5 separate regions of the Homo sapiens genome follow, and regions 1, 2, 3 and 4 are each linked to region 5. The links are contacts of gene promoters, found by promoter capture Hi-C in blood cells and fetal thymus (Javierre and others, 2016). All regions are on one chromosome and are shown on one strand. The core of a region is centred on a gene start or on the middle of the fragment in contact, and the rest is flanking DNA. Distances in the headings are between cores, read along the strand shown.

The links. The method cuts DNA at HindIII sites, captures the fragments that hold promoters and counts their contacts. A CHiCAGO score of 5 or more calls a contact.
Region 1: a contact is called between a fragment that was not itself captured here and the fragment with the promoter of GALNT3 in region 5, in 1 of 17 cell types (non-activated CD4 T cells). The highest score is 5.0, in non-activated CD4 T cells.
Region 2: a contact is called between a fragment that was not itself captured here and the fragment with the promoter of GALNT3 in region 5, in 1 of 17 cell types (erythroblasts). The highest score is 5.0, in erythroblasts.
Region 3: a fragment that was not itself captured here is called in contact with the fragment with the promoter of GALNT3 in region 5 in 12 of 17 cell types (naive B cells, monocytes, total B cells and 9 more); the score reaches 8.8 in naive B cells.
Region 4: a fragment that was not itself captured here is called in contact with the fragment with the promoter of GALNT3 in region 5 in 2 of 17 cell types (endothelial precursors and megakaryocytes); the score reaches 6.1 in endothelial precursors.

The regions. Positions count from the first base shown.
Region 1 is chr2:165,350,834-165,353,533 of GRCh38, reverse strand. All of the region lies in intron 16 of SCN2A (sodium voltage-gated channel alpha subunit 2), which reads right to left. Among named protein-coding and RNA genes, the nearest start is that of SCN2A, 110 kb to the right of the region's middle. The HindIII fragment of the contact is 1,009 bases long and covers 941-1,949 here.
Region 2 is chr2:165,423,299-165,425,998 of GRCh38, reverse strand. No RefSeq gene overlaps it. Among named protein-coding and RNA genes, the nearest start is that of CSRNP3, 45 kb to the left of the region's middle. RefSeq lists an enhancer at 2,380-2,700. The HindIII fragment of the contact is 3,027 bases long and covers 1-2,700 here.
Region 3 is chr2:165,400,482-165,403,181 of GRCh38, reverse strand. No RefSeq gene overlaps it. Among named protein-coding and RNA genes, the nearest start is that of CSRNP3, 68 kb to the left of the region's middle. The HindIII fragment of the contact is 1,052 bases long and covers 781-1,832 here.
Region 4 is chr2:165,377,153-165,379,852 of GRCh38, reverse strand. SCN2A (sodium voltage-gated channel alpha subunit 2) reads right to left here. Exons shown (of 27, transcript NM_001040142.2): 23 at 2,203-2,256. Among named protein-coding and RNA genes, the nearest start is that of CSRNP3, 91 kb to the left of the region's middle. The HindIII fragment of the contact is 1,890 bases long and covers 484-2,373 here.
Region 5 is chr2:165,792,957-165,795,656 of GRCh38, reverse strand. It overlaps GALNT3 (polypeptide N-acetylgalactosaminyltransferase 3), which reads left to right and starts at 1,410. Exons shown (of 11, transcript NM_004482.4): 1 at 1,410-1,642. LOC124906086 reads right to left here and starts at 2,071. Exons shown (of 6, transcript XM_047446887.1): 1 at 1,865-2,071; 2 at 1,320-1,738; 3 at 578-857. The coding sequence starts at 2,071. RefSeq lists silencers at 1,468-1,617, 1,688-1,777 and enhancers at 848-1,753, 1,754-2,660. The HindIII fragment of the contact is 5,078 bases long and covers 1-2,475 here.

The DNA of each region.
Region 1 (2,700 bases), core at 196-2,695, 440 kb after region 5:
TTCTTTATAAATTACCCAGTCTCAGGTATTTATCTGTAACAATGCAAGAATGGCCTAATACAGATGCTATTTTGACTATGTAATTTGGATTTCCGGAAACACTGATAATTTATTCCTAAAATCAACAATTATCCCAATATATTTAAATATGATTTTATTTTTGTGCCTTTGTACCATTTTTTGTACCTAGATAACTGGACAAATCAGACAAAAACGTATTTATTGCTGGATGAAAAGTCCCAATTTTTATTAAGACAATTATGGCTACTATAATTATACAATAGTGAGAAATACTATAAAATGGTTATTATACAATAATTATGATGTTATTGTTGAATTAAAGATTGTGGAGTTGAAGTATTGCCATGAATAAGGACAGTAATCAGTCTGCAAATTGGGTCTTTAAAAATAGGCTCCACCAGTATGAATGAGTGAAAAGATTCATGACATTAAACTCACTATTGTGGAAAAAAAAAAAAAGACAACTTACGAAGAAATCAGACATTCTCAGGGGTACAAGACTGAGTCATATAATTTTTTTTCAGGATTTGATTGACAATATCAATGAATTCCTGATTATTTAAGCACACATAACATACAGAACAAAAGAAAGATATAGCAGTAAAGGGGGGCAAATGCACAAAGTAAATACAAGTTGCATATCCCTTATTTGAAATGCTTGGGGCCAGAAGTGTTTTGGATTTTAGATTTTAAAATATTTGCATGTACATAATGACAAGTCTTGAGAATGAGACACATGTGTAAACATAAAATTCATTTAAGTTTCATACACATACACATAGCCTGAAGGTAATATTATACAATATTTTTAATAATTTAGTTCAGGAAACAACATTTTGACTGTGGTTTAACTGCGATTCATTACAGGAGGCCAGATGTGAATTTTCCTCTTGTAGTATCAGGTTGGTGCTCAAAAGCTTTGAACTTCCGAGCATTTTGGATTTCAAATTTTCAGATTAGGGATGCTCAAACTGTAGTACAAAAGTAGAATCTTAGGAAAATTTTTAAGTAAAACTTCAATAAAAAGGATTCTACATTCTTGCTATATTCTCATGCTTCTATCATGCTAATGAGGCTTACAGCACCTTTGTCTAATTAGTTGTAAGTTAGTCTAACCAATGGTGATTTTTTTTAAAGTAAAAATATGTAAGATCCAATGAAGACCACGTTTGATTTTGAGAGTGTACTGACAATCTGTCAGTCTCTATACTATGACTCCTGATAATCACATTAAGACCAGACCTGCTCCTTTGCCTCTGGAATTTACCAATAAAATTATGTTTTATTGTAATTTGCTTTTGAACTTATTATTTGGATTAAAAAAACAGACAAAGGAAGAAAAAATTGCATGTAAAATTTTTATTTTATCTATTTTGGTGCTATTTCCTAGACTTATTTTCCTAAAGTATATTAAAGTTCTGTCATTTGTCTATTTGGAAATTTTTCTTGATACACATCCATCAATCCTTCCCCAGGGCGGGAGCCAATTATATTGCCTCTGTACTGGACAAATACTCTATTTACAAATGTCATTTACTGTGACATTTATATAGCCTGCTCCCATTTCTCATTCTGTCCTGTTAAATTTCTCATCCACATCCCTATCACATTATATTGGATTCTTTAAAAAAAAAAAAAAAACAAGCACAGCTTTACTGATAGATTGGGAGATCTTTTGGTCAGAAACATGCCTTAGAGCCAAGTCCTAGAGCAGTATCAATACCAGATCATAATAACAATAAAAGTAAAACCAGCTTTTTAGTTGAGCTCTTAGTAAATACCAGTTATTGTGCAAAGCATTTTCAAGGTTTATGTGATTTATTTCTCACAACTCTATAAGGCAGGAATTATTACTATTTTACAGATGAAAATGCTTCTGCACAACTTACATGACTTGTCCAAGACCACAGTTAATAAGTAGAGAAGCTTTTTTTTTTTTGAAAGTCTAACTACAAGGTCTTTTCTCCTAATTGTGATGTTTGCAGAATAAGTGAGGAAACAGTATTCCATGTTTACTCTTACCGATACTTCCTTTCTTTGAACTGCTACCATATTTAGTCAGTATAATAGGGTTTACTATTAATTTTCGAATTGTTTCTCTGATCTTTTATGAATTGATAACTCAATTCAATGCTATTCCACTGTCAGGAAAATAAATAAATATCCCTGGAACATATGACTTTTCTTTCTCATAAATCCATTGAAGTTTTTATTTTTTTTAAAGCAGCCAATCTACCCGTGGTGACACAGTTTTGAAACCGCGTTTATTAATACCCACTAGACACTAACTTTCATCAGCATGTTTATCTTAGTTCTATAGATTACTTGACATAGAGGAGCACATATTTTAGAATTCGAGTGCTAGGTAAGAATCGATTTTCTGTTACCTACTAAGTAGCATAACCAATCTGAGCCTCAGTTTCCTCATCTATAAAATAAATGTAATCGTTTTTCTAGTGCCCAGCTTACAAGGTTGTTGAAAGGATTCAGTGACAGAATTCATGTGGCTTTCAGCACAGTTCTTGGCACATAGTGAACCTTTGAGAAAGTTTAGCTGTTATCACTTACTATTATCCAACTTATCCTCCACAACACTATCTTTTTATTTACCTTATTTCCCTAGAAATATTTGTGTGAGTCAAGTTATTCTCTTTTTCTGGACTTCCTTTGTTACCGAAG
Region 2 (2,700 bases), core at 138-2,637, 370 kb after region 5:
AGGCAAGATTGATTGAATCACTGTCCATGTGATTAAACCAAATCTCTGACCCCTTTATGCTCCCCAGATATTGAGCTAATATCAAAGTCCCAATCCTCTCATCACATGGTTGGTCTTTCTGGTGTTGCCAGTACCTGTCCCGAGTCATCTCATTAGTATAAAACATGTAGAGTCCACCATGAGTTACCTCACTAGTATAAACAAGGTCTACCATGAATACCATAAACACTCCTGTCACTCAGGAAATTCCAAGGATTTTGAGGCTACTTCTCATAAACTGGGGATGGAGACCAGCCAAATTCTTTATTATACTACAGAGATCAAACGCATAGGCACTGAAATATAGACACCTGAATATGCATGTTTTGCATGAATAAATACTTCTAGTCAGGAGTGGCTTGACTCCAAAGTATTTTGAAACATAAAATAAATAATAAGTCCAGAAAAGCAGTTTGGGAACATTTTATCGGAGATCTTTGAAAATAGCCTAAATATTTTATTCTTTTAATAACAGCAAATCTTTACCTATAACTGTATATATTTGTTACCATACTGCTTTAACCTGAATTCTATTTTAGTAAGATTATGGCAATTCAAAAGATGTCAGGAAGAAGAATGTGGTTTAACCATGTTTCTTAAAAATCTAACTTATATATTATTTGCAACTGGGCCAGTGAAAATTCTCTGAGACTAACAGCTTAACCAAAATAACAAGAGCTGCCCTCATGCTTCCATACAAGTCAGTATCTGACTTCTTAGTTCTGATTACCTATTTAGCTCCAACCCTGGATTCTACATCTGCTTTTGTCTCTGCTAGTCAGTTATCCATTTTGTTTTCTGACTCAATTTTTCTTTAGGATTTCAGCTTTACGGATCCTCCCTAAAATAGTTTTTTGCACCTCAACTATCAATGTTCATTCTGACCCTTCAGCTTGCGTATAGGTGACCTCTCACAATTCCATCATAACCAGCTGCCTAATTATATCCTCCTATTATCAAGTTGGCCATGAAGGACAAGAAATAACTAGTTCCATAATAATGCATTAATTTCTGCATTCTTGCATTTTTCTTATATGCCTGCTCTTTCACTCCCTTACAGCTCTCAGCTCTCAGTCACATAGTGTTATTTCTGCCCTGGCACACTGCTTGGCCATGGCATGATGCATTGTATACAATGAGCACACTAATTCTATCACAATATCTGCATACTAACTACTTCGGCTGAATTGACTATTATACTAATCTACTCTATTCCAAAAAACAGGGGTCTTTAGAATTGTGGTATACAATAAAGAAAACAGCATCTGGCCTGGCTTTGAGAGATTCTGTACATGACTTAATTGCTAGGTACTAAGTGATAAATATGAACAAACAAGCTCATAAAACTTATAGACTAATGGCTTAGAAGTTGCTTCATTATAAACAATATCAGTTAACTACTAAACACATTCATATTACACACATCTACTTAATTATAGTCTACTAATATACTACTATATTGTGTATATTATAAAGCATATATAAACTGGAAAATAAAAAGGATAAATTAAATAATACTTGTATATTCTTCAAAATTTCTACTGTTTTTGGCTAACTTCTTATTAGATTTATAATATGGTTTGGATCTGTGTCCCCACCAAATCTCATGTTGAATTGTAATCCCCTGTGTTGGATGTGAGGCCTGGTGGGAGGTGATTGGATCACAGAGATGGAGTTCTCACGAACGGGTTAGCACCATGCCCTTACTGCTGTTCTTGTGATAGTGAATGAGGGAGTTCTTGTGAGATCTGGTTGCTTTAAAGTGTGTAGTGCCTACCCCTGCAACCCCCATGCTCTCTTTCCTGCTCCAGCCACGTAAGACATTCCTGCTTCTCCCTTCACCTTCCACTATGATTATAGGTCTCCTGAGGCCTCCTCAGAAACCAAGTAGAGGCTATCATATTTCCTGTACAGCCTGTATAATCATACGCCAACTAAACCTCTTTTCTTTAAAAATTACTCAGCTTCTGTTATTTCTTTATAGCAATACAAGGATGGAGTAATACAGAAAATTGGTACCAAGAAGTGGGACATTGCTTCAAAGATACTTGAAAAGGTGGAAGTAGTTTTGGACCTGTGTAACAGGCAGAGGTTGGAACAGTGTGGAGGGCTCAGAAGATAGGAAGATGAGGTAAAATTTGGAACTTCCTAGAGGCTTGTTAAATTATTGTGACCAAAATGCTTATAGTGGTATATACAATGAAGTCCAGGCTGAGGAGGTCTCAGATGGAAATGAGAAACTTATTGGGAATTGGAGCAAAGGTCACTTTTGTTATGCATTAGCAAAGAGGTTGGGTGCATGGTGTCCCTGTTCTAGGGATCTGTGGAACTTTAAACTTGAGAGTGGTGATTTAGGGTATGTGGTGGAAGAAATATGAAAGCAGTGAAGTGTTCGAGATGTAGCCTGCCTGCTTCTAACAGCCTTATCTCATATGTGTGAGCAAAGAAATGTCTTGAAACTGGCAACTTATATTTAAAAAAGAAGCAGAGAATAAAAGTTTGGAAAATTTGCAGCCCGGCCATGTGGTAGAAAAGAAAAGCCGATTTTCTGTGGAGAAATTCAAGCAGGCTGCAGAAATTTGCATAACTAAAAGGAAGCCAAGTACTGATAGCTAAGACAACAGAAAGGAAATGGCCTCCAAGGCATTTCAGAGGCCTTCC
Region 3 (2,700 bases), core at 57-2,556, 390 kb after region 5:
CCAGCTGATAGAATACGACAAAAGTGAAGGGATTTTGCAAATGTAATTAAGGTGCTGAAACAGTTTGATTTTGAGTCAGTCTAAAGGAGATTATACTGGATAGCCTGACCAAATCAAATAAGCCTTTTAAAAGAGGGTTTAGGTCTTCCCTGAGCTCAAAGACTTGATGCAGTGAAACTCTCCTGGGTCTTGAAGAAACTAACTGCCATGGGTTCTAAAGCTGATGGAAACGAATTTTACCATCAGCTGCTTAAACTTGGAAGAGAACTCCAAGGTTCAGATGAGCTTCCAGTCCTGGCTGACATTGTGATTGCAGCCTTGTGAGACTGAGAAGAGGGCCCGGGTAAGCTGTACCCAGACTCCTGACCCAAAGAAACTGTAGGATAATAAATACTGGATGTGTTGTCTGGGCCTCTGCATGTGTGGTTATTTAACAATTGAAAACCAGTATGCTATAATAAATAACAATATCTGAAGATTATGTCATAAAGATGACAAAAGGATATCCATTTGTTTGTTTTTAAAATGAATAAACTGAGACACCTTAGAAAATATATACAGTATATGATTTCTTATATTGACTACAAAGTAGGTTCTGGTATACATCCAAACCTTTCTAAAGAAAAGCCTAGGATTAAGCTTATGTTTCTGGATTTTTGGACTCTCTTCCCAAGCCACGTATTGATTCTTGCCCCAAACTACCTGCACTAAAACGCCTGCTTCTTATTTTATGGAGGACTTAGTAGTGACATCATTCTGGTTTTGCTCCGAGGATAAGCTTTATAGTCTTTATCAGCTGGCTCCTGAGCAAGGATTTGCTTCCTATTAGTATGCCTTGGGAAATGCTGACTGCTGACTTTATAAATAACCCAAGAATGACTTTACAATGCTATAATTCTATGGATTTAATCAGATTGTTTTGGATCAGATTTACTTTAGGGACTATGTTTTCCTTGGCTAATTTTTCTGTTACATTTGCAATTTTGTTGTGAACAGTGGCAGAAACACATTCCCTTTGTAGGGAGAATAACTTATTGTGTGAATTTGGAGCTGAAAATAAGTGTTCCACACATGAGCATGCACGACACTTCCTGTGTTACTCTCTTAAAACCCTTGGCCACAGGATCTCTGGTATATGATGAGTTAATTATTTTATTCCTGATGCACCTTCAAGAAATGTAGCTTTACTAAGTGATGAATTATTTCTGAATTAGAGACAGAATTTAAGACACGTGCTGAGTTAGACAACCAAATTTTGCCGTGCTCATGAAAATGTGGATAAACACTTTCAAGACTCTCAAGTACTTATAGTGATAAAGTTACTTGAAACTCTCTATTGATATGAATACTTCAACACTTTGCTCATTCAGTTTTATGTTAGTCGCTGAGATCCTTTCCATTAACCATGTCTTTAGGTTCATAATTTGCTCATGTTTGTTTAATTTTTGCACTATGAGATCTATGCCCAAGGAAAGAAATCTTTTCTCAGTACAAATGCTTCACAAACTGTTTTTTCTTGAAGAGACACATTCAAATGTAAACATTATTTTTCCAGCAATGTTTCCAAAGTGGATATTTACTTTAATTGTTTTACACCTAAAATAGTTGCAAAATAAGCAGAAAATGTATTTGCAAGGCTAACTGCCCTTCTTCCACCAGCCGAATTTACGAGTCATGTTTCTTAATGGAAGCATCGCCCTCTAGTGGATAGGGTTGCAATAATAACTTACTTTTCCCACATAACTACCTTTGTGTGAAATTCAAATAACATAACCATTTTAAAGTGTACAATTCATTAGTATTTATTGTAGCCACATGTGCAAGTACAAGCTTTCTGTAGTTTCACGTTTTTATTACTCCAGAAAAAATCCCATAACCATTAAGTAAGCACTTCCTATTCGGCTGTCCTCCCACCCCCAGTAACCTTTAATCTATTTTTATTTTATTTATTTATTTTTTGAGACAGGGTCTTGGTCTGTTGCCCAGGCTGGAGTGTAGTGGCAGGAACAAGGCTCATTGAAGTCTCAACCTCCTGGGCTCAAGGAATCCTCCCGCCACAGCCTCCCAAGTAGCTGGAACCACAGGCCCCCACCACTATAACTGGCTAATTTTTGTAGAGATGGAGTTTTGCCATATTGCCCAGACTTGTCTGGAACTCTTGAGCTCAGGCAACCCTCCCCACCTGGCCTTCCAAAAGTGCTAGGATTACAGGTGTGAGCCACTACGCCCAGCCTAACCTACTTTCTATCTCTATTGATTTGCCCATTCTGGGTATATAAGAGTAATCACATAATATGTGATTTCTTGTGTGTGGCTTTTTACACCTCTCATAATGTCTTTGAGATTCATCCAAATTGTAGCATGTATCAATACTTCATTTCTTTTATGATTGAATAAGTCATATGAATATACCACAATTGTTTATTCATCCATTGCTGGGCACTTGGTTATTTCCATCTTTTTTTCTATTATGAGTAATGTTGTTATAAATATTTGTGTACAGGATTATATTAGACATATGTTTCCATTTTTCTTGGGTGTATACCTAGGAGTAGAATTCCTGGGTCATAGGATAATTCTGTGTTAAACTTTTTGAGGAACTGTCAAAAAAGGGCAATCAGGTACATCAAAATATGGTTTTCTAAAATATTGGCAGGTTTGTCAAAAGGTGCTGGTTAGTATTGAAAAAAATGACAATAG
Region 4 (2,700 bases), core at 179-2,678, 420 kb after region 5:
ATAGGACATTGTTCTAACCAACTCAGTTAACCAATCCCTGATGATGATAATAGATGCAAGTTATAACCCACTGTGTTATGAAATCAATTTAGAGGATTATGACCAGCATAATTTTGTTTCTAAGGAAATACAGCAAAATGGAAAATATCAGGAATATTGTAAAACTGCTATTCTTCGATGAGATTTTATTTGTGTATGTGAGTTTAGTTAACAGTGATGTAAAATTATATTTTTAAAATTTTTAAAAGACAATATACATACAGGAAAGTGCATAATACATAAATGCAAAATATAATATGTTTTATAAGTGAAATCCATAACCCAGGACATTGCTACAACTTCAGAAACCCTTGGTGTACCCTTCTCAAACATAAACTCCATCATCCCTGCTGGAGGTAATCATTATCCTGACTTTTATGGTAATGATGTCCCTGCTTTTTCTTTCAAGTTAACACCTCAGTATGCAGTTTTGAACAATAAGCTTAGTTTTGTCAATTTCGAACTTTATATAAGTAGAATTATAGTATGTGTCTAGTTTCTTTAACTCAATGTTGTATTTTTAAGGCTCATCCATGTGGTTGTATATGGCGGTATTCATTCATTTTCATCACTATATAGTATTCAATTATTTGCCTATTTCTACTGTTTTTGAGTTGCTCCCAGTTTTTTGCAAGTGCAAAAAAAAGTTATATTCATTTTTGTACATAGATTATCCTAAACATGTGCATAAGTTTCTTTAGGATACGTTGTTCAAAGTAGAATTGCAGTATTAAAAAATATCTTTAACTTTCTCAAATAATGTGATCATACCCAACTGTTTTTAAAGGATTATTTAACTATTTTTTTTCCTATCAGCATTGTACGAGTGTTCTTATTGCTGTTTATCCTTGGTAAAACTTGGTATTGTCAGACTTTTTGGTATTGCCAATCTGGTAGGTGTGTAGATAATGTTTTATTTTGGTTTAAATTTGCATTTATCTGATGCAATTTACTAATTAAAGTTCAAGATCCAGCAACTTTTCATAAATGTAGTGCTCAATTGGCTTTCATCTTTTGTAATGTGCTGGAAATTCCAGGAGTTTTGCAGCGGAAAAGGTCTGCTAAGTTATTAAAGAAGAAACTGAAAATGTTTCATGGCATATAAGCTATTGATAAGGAAGGTGGAGAGAGCATTGAATTAATTAATCAAAAAGGTAAGAACCACTGTGGAAAGTGGGTATGAGCCATTATTTGTGGTCAGGGTTCAAAAACTTGTTTTCCCATTTAACGCATTAAGCCTCTTTGCTTCAGTAGTAAAATAGAGCTAGTATCACCTATACAATAAGGTTGTCATTTAGGATTAAATGGGATAATGTGAGAAAGTCCTTGGCACAGTGAATAGTGATAATCAATAAATTATTATTACTATTCAGAAAAATCTCATAACTGGAATTCCTGATAGCACTTATAGAGATACAATGCAGGGCTTTTCATGCTTTCTTGCTCCCTCTCTGTTTTTATGAAGTGGAAAAAAGAAAAAAAAAAACCTCAGGAATTCTTCACTCAGAAAGCTAGCTGCTGGTGCTAGGGAAAGAGCATTTTGAGCTTTATTATCATGCTCTGGCATACCAGAAATCAATCTCTTTTTTTTTTTTTTTCAAAATGTGACTTCATTCCTCATTAAATAGTGAGAAATTAATGAAAATTATAGAAAAGAATTCAAAGTACTGGTATGTATAAAGTAGATTAGGGAAGTCCCTCCCTTCTACCACTTAATCTCACTTTCCCAAGAGAAACACTAAATTGTTTATTTTTGTCCCCGTTTTTAGTCATATCCTTCCTATTATAAGGAAGATCAAAAGCTGGAGGAAATATATTACAGATAAAAAATATTGCCTGTGAGAACTTCTAATGCACAAATGACCAGGACTATCAGAGCCAAAAATAAAATGTCTCATTTTGAAAATACATACAATAAAGTTTTGTGTCAGGTGCCTTGCTAAATACTAGAAAAGATATGTTAAAAGATACAGAGTGATTAGAGAAAATCATCCTATGATAATTTTGAAAGAAATAGTATGATTAAATATTTTATCCTTATAATATAGATGGGTTTTATAAATTAAGCACATAATTTTATTTTATTGACAATATCACTAAATTACAATATTGTAGAAATATACATTTAATCAAACTAAACAATTTCCCTCTAACTAGACTTACATTTCGTGAATCAACAGCTGCATACATAATATCCATCCATCCCTTAAACGTGGCCTGTAAGAAAAGTCATATCATTTTCTTTTTTCCCAAAATTATAATTTTAGAAAATAAATTGAATAATTGATCAAAATTCTATTTGACATGTATTCAATACAGGCATATAAATAAGCTTGAAATTTGTATTCACTTTTGGGGCAATGTTTTGCGATATGCATTGAAAATACTTCAAATTTATATTCCTCTATAACATCTTATGTGGATATTTAGCATATATAATTAAATAATGATCTACTGTAACAATATGCTATCATAAAAACAATATGAACAATCTTTGACTCTGATGTGTTTATATAAAAATATATCATGAACTTTGATGAAAAAATTTCATGTGTATAGTAGCAGCATGAGACAAGCTCAAAAGTATGCTGCATTATTTATCTTAATGCTTCCTTTCTACTTATTCTTTTCTAAATGATTATTACACCAATCACCAATCAT
Region 5 (2,700 bases), core at 161-2,660:
TACTGATATTAAAATGTTGCAAATACATGGAGGTTCCTTGGTGCTCGCAAAATAACCATGACATGTAAAACAAGCAAAGAACTACCTAGTTTACTAAAGTCTTAAACCCTAACTCATAGATGTCCTAGTATAAAATAGCACTATGGATGCTAAAACCAATGTCTTAGAGTAGTCAAATACTAAAGATACACTTGTTGATACTATACTAAACTGTATTTTAAACCTTATTTTTAGGTCACGCATAGCACTAATAAAACAGTGAATAAGCACCATAAGAGCATGTCAAAATGTAGGAGGAAGGCCACAACTAAACTTCATAGTAAAACCTACCACCATGTGATTAAACACGACACCAAAAAGTTTTTAGCTAGTTTTCTATTTATATCCCTAGATATCTTTGGGATAGGGCCAAAGAAATGAGTTCATAGAAAGGTATAAAGGCCATTTTAAGTCCTGGTTTTGGGTGTGTCAATGTTTGTTGCAGCAGCAGAAGGAAGGCTGAAACAGAAAGTTGTGTCATAAATGGAACAAATACTGTTTAACAATTTTTTTTTGTCTTAAAAACAGCAAAACCCACCATCTTCCTGGAGTCTGCGTTGTTCTCTTCCAGAATAGATGTTGAGCTTTTAAACAAACCTGCAGTAGAAGCAAGCCCTCTCCAGGAAATCCCAATCTCTTTCCAAACAGGGACAGCAAAGGTTCTCTCTGTTGTGGCTGTTTTTCCCTCTCTTCTGGGAATTGGTTTGCCTTCTGAGAGCATCCCAGGAAGGGGAGGTGCGCCCCAAATTGGCGAGGCTCTGCCAAATACCAAAGGCTCTTCTTTGGAAGAAGACTCCTCCTTTGGACGTGAGGCGCCCCTACCAGAGCGCCCGCGTACAGAAACGGAAACCACTAGCTGCGCTGAAGTGAGTCAAGTGATGAAATCAAGACTACACGGGAAGGAAGCTCACGAAACCTAACTGGTGACAGAAGCTGCTGAACCCTGCCCGAAGAAACCACATGAGCCAGCAGTTGCTGCCCTCCCGAAGTGGTCCTCGGAGGCAGCGCACCCCTTCATTTTGGCGAACCGAGGAGGAAGGGAGGAACCGTGTGGGGGAAATCTAGAACTTCTGGTTCCCCAAGGACCCAGCAGACTGTGTTCTGGCTACAAGGTGATCACTGCCACCAGGTCAGTGCAGGATTCCTCCAATGTAGATGGGCCGGGAGCCACAACTTGCGCGGAGCAGCAGCCTCGCCGACCACTCAGAGAGAAGCCGCGCGACAGCCAGGCTTGGCCCGGACGGCGCCCCCACCCTGCGCGCGCGATCCAAGGTTCTCACCTGGAGCGCTCAGGTAGGGCTGGGGCGGGGCGGGAGGCTGGCGCGCAGGCGCGGAAGTGGGGCCTCGCCCCTGCCGACGTCGCAGGCTGGAGCTCACCTGGGAGACTCCAAGTGGAAGCCGAGCCTCGGTTCTGCCTCTCCAGGCAACGCGGGAGGCCCAGCGGGAAGGCAGGAGGCGGCGGCGGAGGAGGAGCTCTACTGAGCCGCAACTGTGGCGACAGCAACCGGAGTCGCAGCCGCCGCCACCTGCACCTGGCGCCTAGCCCACGTCCAGCGCCTGCCCGGCCGCCGCTTCCCGCCACCCTGCCCTGCCCACCCGCCAGGTAAGCCGGCGGCAGGCGGAGGGAGACGCGGTACCCCTGGGCTGCGTTAGAGCAGGCGGGAGGACGGCCGCAGGGGTTCACGTGTTGGGGACAGGGCTACGGTCCAGGTGGCCGGTTGGAGACGGTCTCGAGAGCAGTGTGTCGGTTGCCCCTGGAGAGATCCCGAAAGGGGCGCCCTGGGCCAAGGGGCAGGTGGCGCCTCGGGGGGGAGCCCGGTCACACCCTCTCGCCCACGGTGCCCCCGCCAGTCCCTATGGGGCGGCCCCTGAGGAGCTGGACGGAGACCAAAGACCTGGTGGCCCCGGACTTGCCCTTGGGAGGGTCGCAGCGTGGGGACCCTGAGAGGGAGGGCCCGGCGGGAGGCGGGCGCGCTTCCACTCCGGCTAGCAGGTTGCCTGTCTCCTCCAGCCTCTCTGCCCGAGAGGACATCCCGCGACAGCGAAAGACATGGCTTTGCCAGGCAACTTTCCTAGCCGGGGACCCCAAACAGTTCTAGGCTGCAAACCGCGGCCGCCGAGCCATTTAAATGGTTTCCGAGTGGTTTGGAAAGGGCTCTGTGGCCGGGACGCGGACACCCCTCTCTCTCTGTTTCGACTCTGCACTTTTCCGGGTGCGCTCTCCAGGCCAGAGTTGGGCCCACTTTCCTGATCAATGGAGAAGAGTTCTTTTCTTCCGTGGCGGGAAGAAATCCAACTGCCACGCACCAACCACTCACCATCTCGTTAGAGGACCTGTTGACTTAAGGACCTGCATATCGCGGCTATGGTTTGCCTGTGGCATATGACTCAAAGGTTCAAAAAAACATTGTTTCAGGATCCTGCCACGTCTAAGCTTGGGTGTGCCAGGCCCAGATTCCTTTCCCTGCCTAATTAGGCTTTTCTGAAGCCTAAGAATTGAGGGTGAAACTGGCGCTTACCTTAGACTTTTATTTCCTTCTCTTTCCAACTCATCAAAGAAACTATTTCTGTTTTAAGAACCCCATCGAGTTACCAATATTTCCGATTCTTGAAAACGTTAACATAACTTGCTATAGAAGTTACACTACATAATGAAGACAT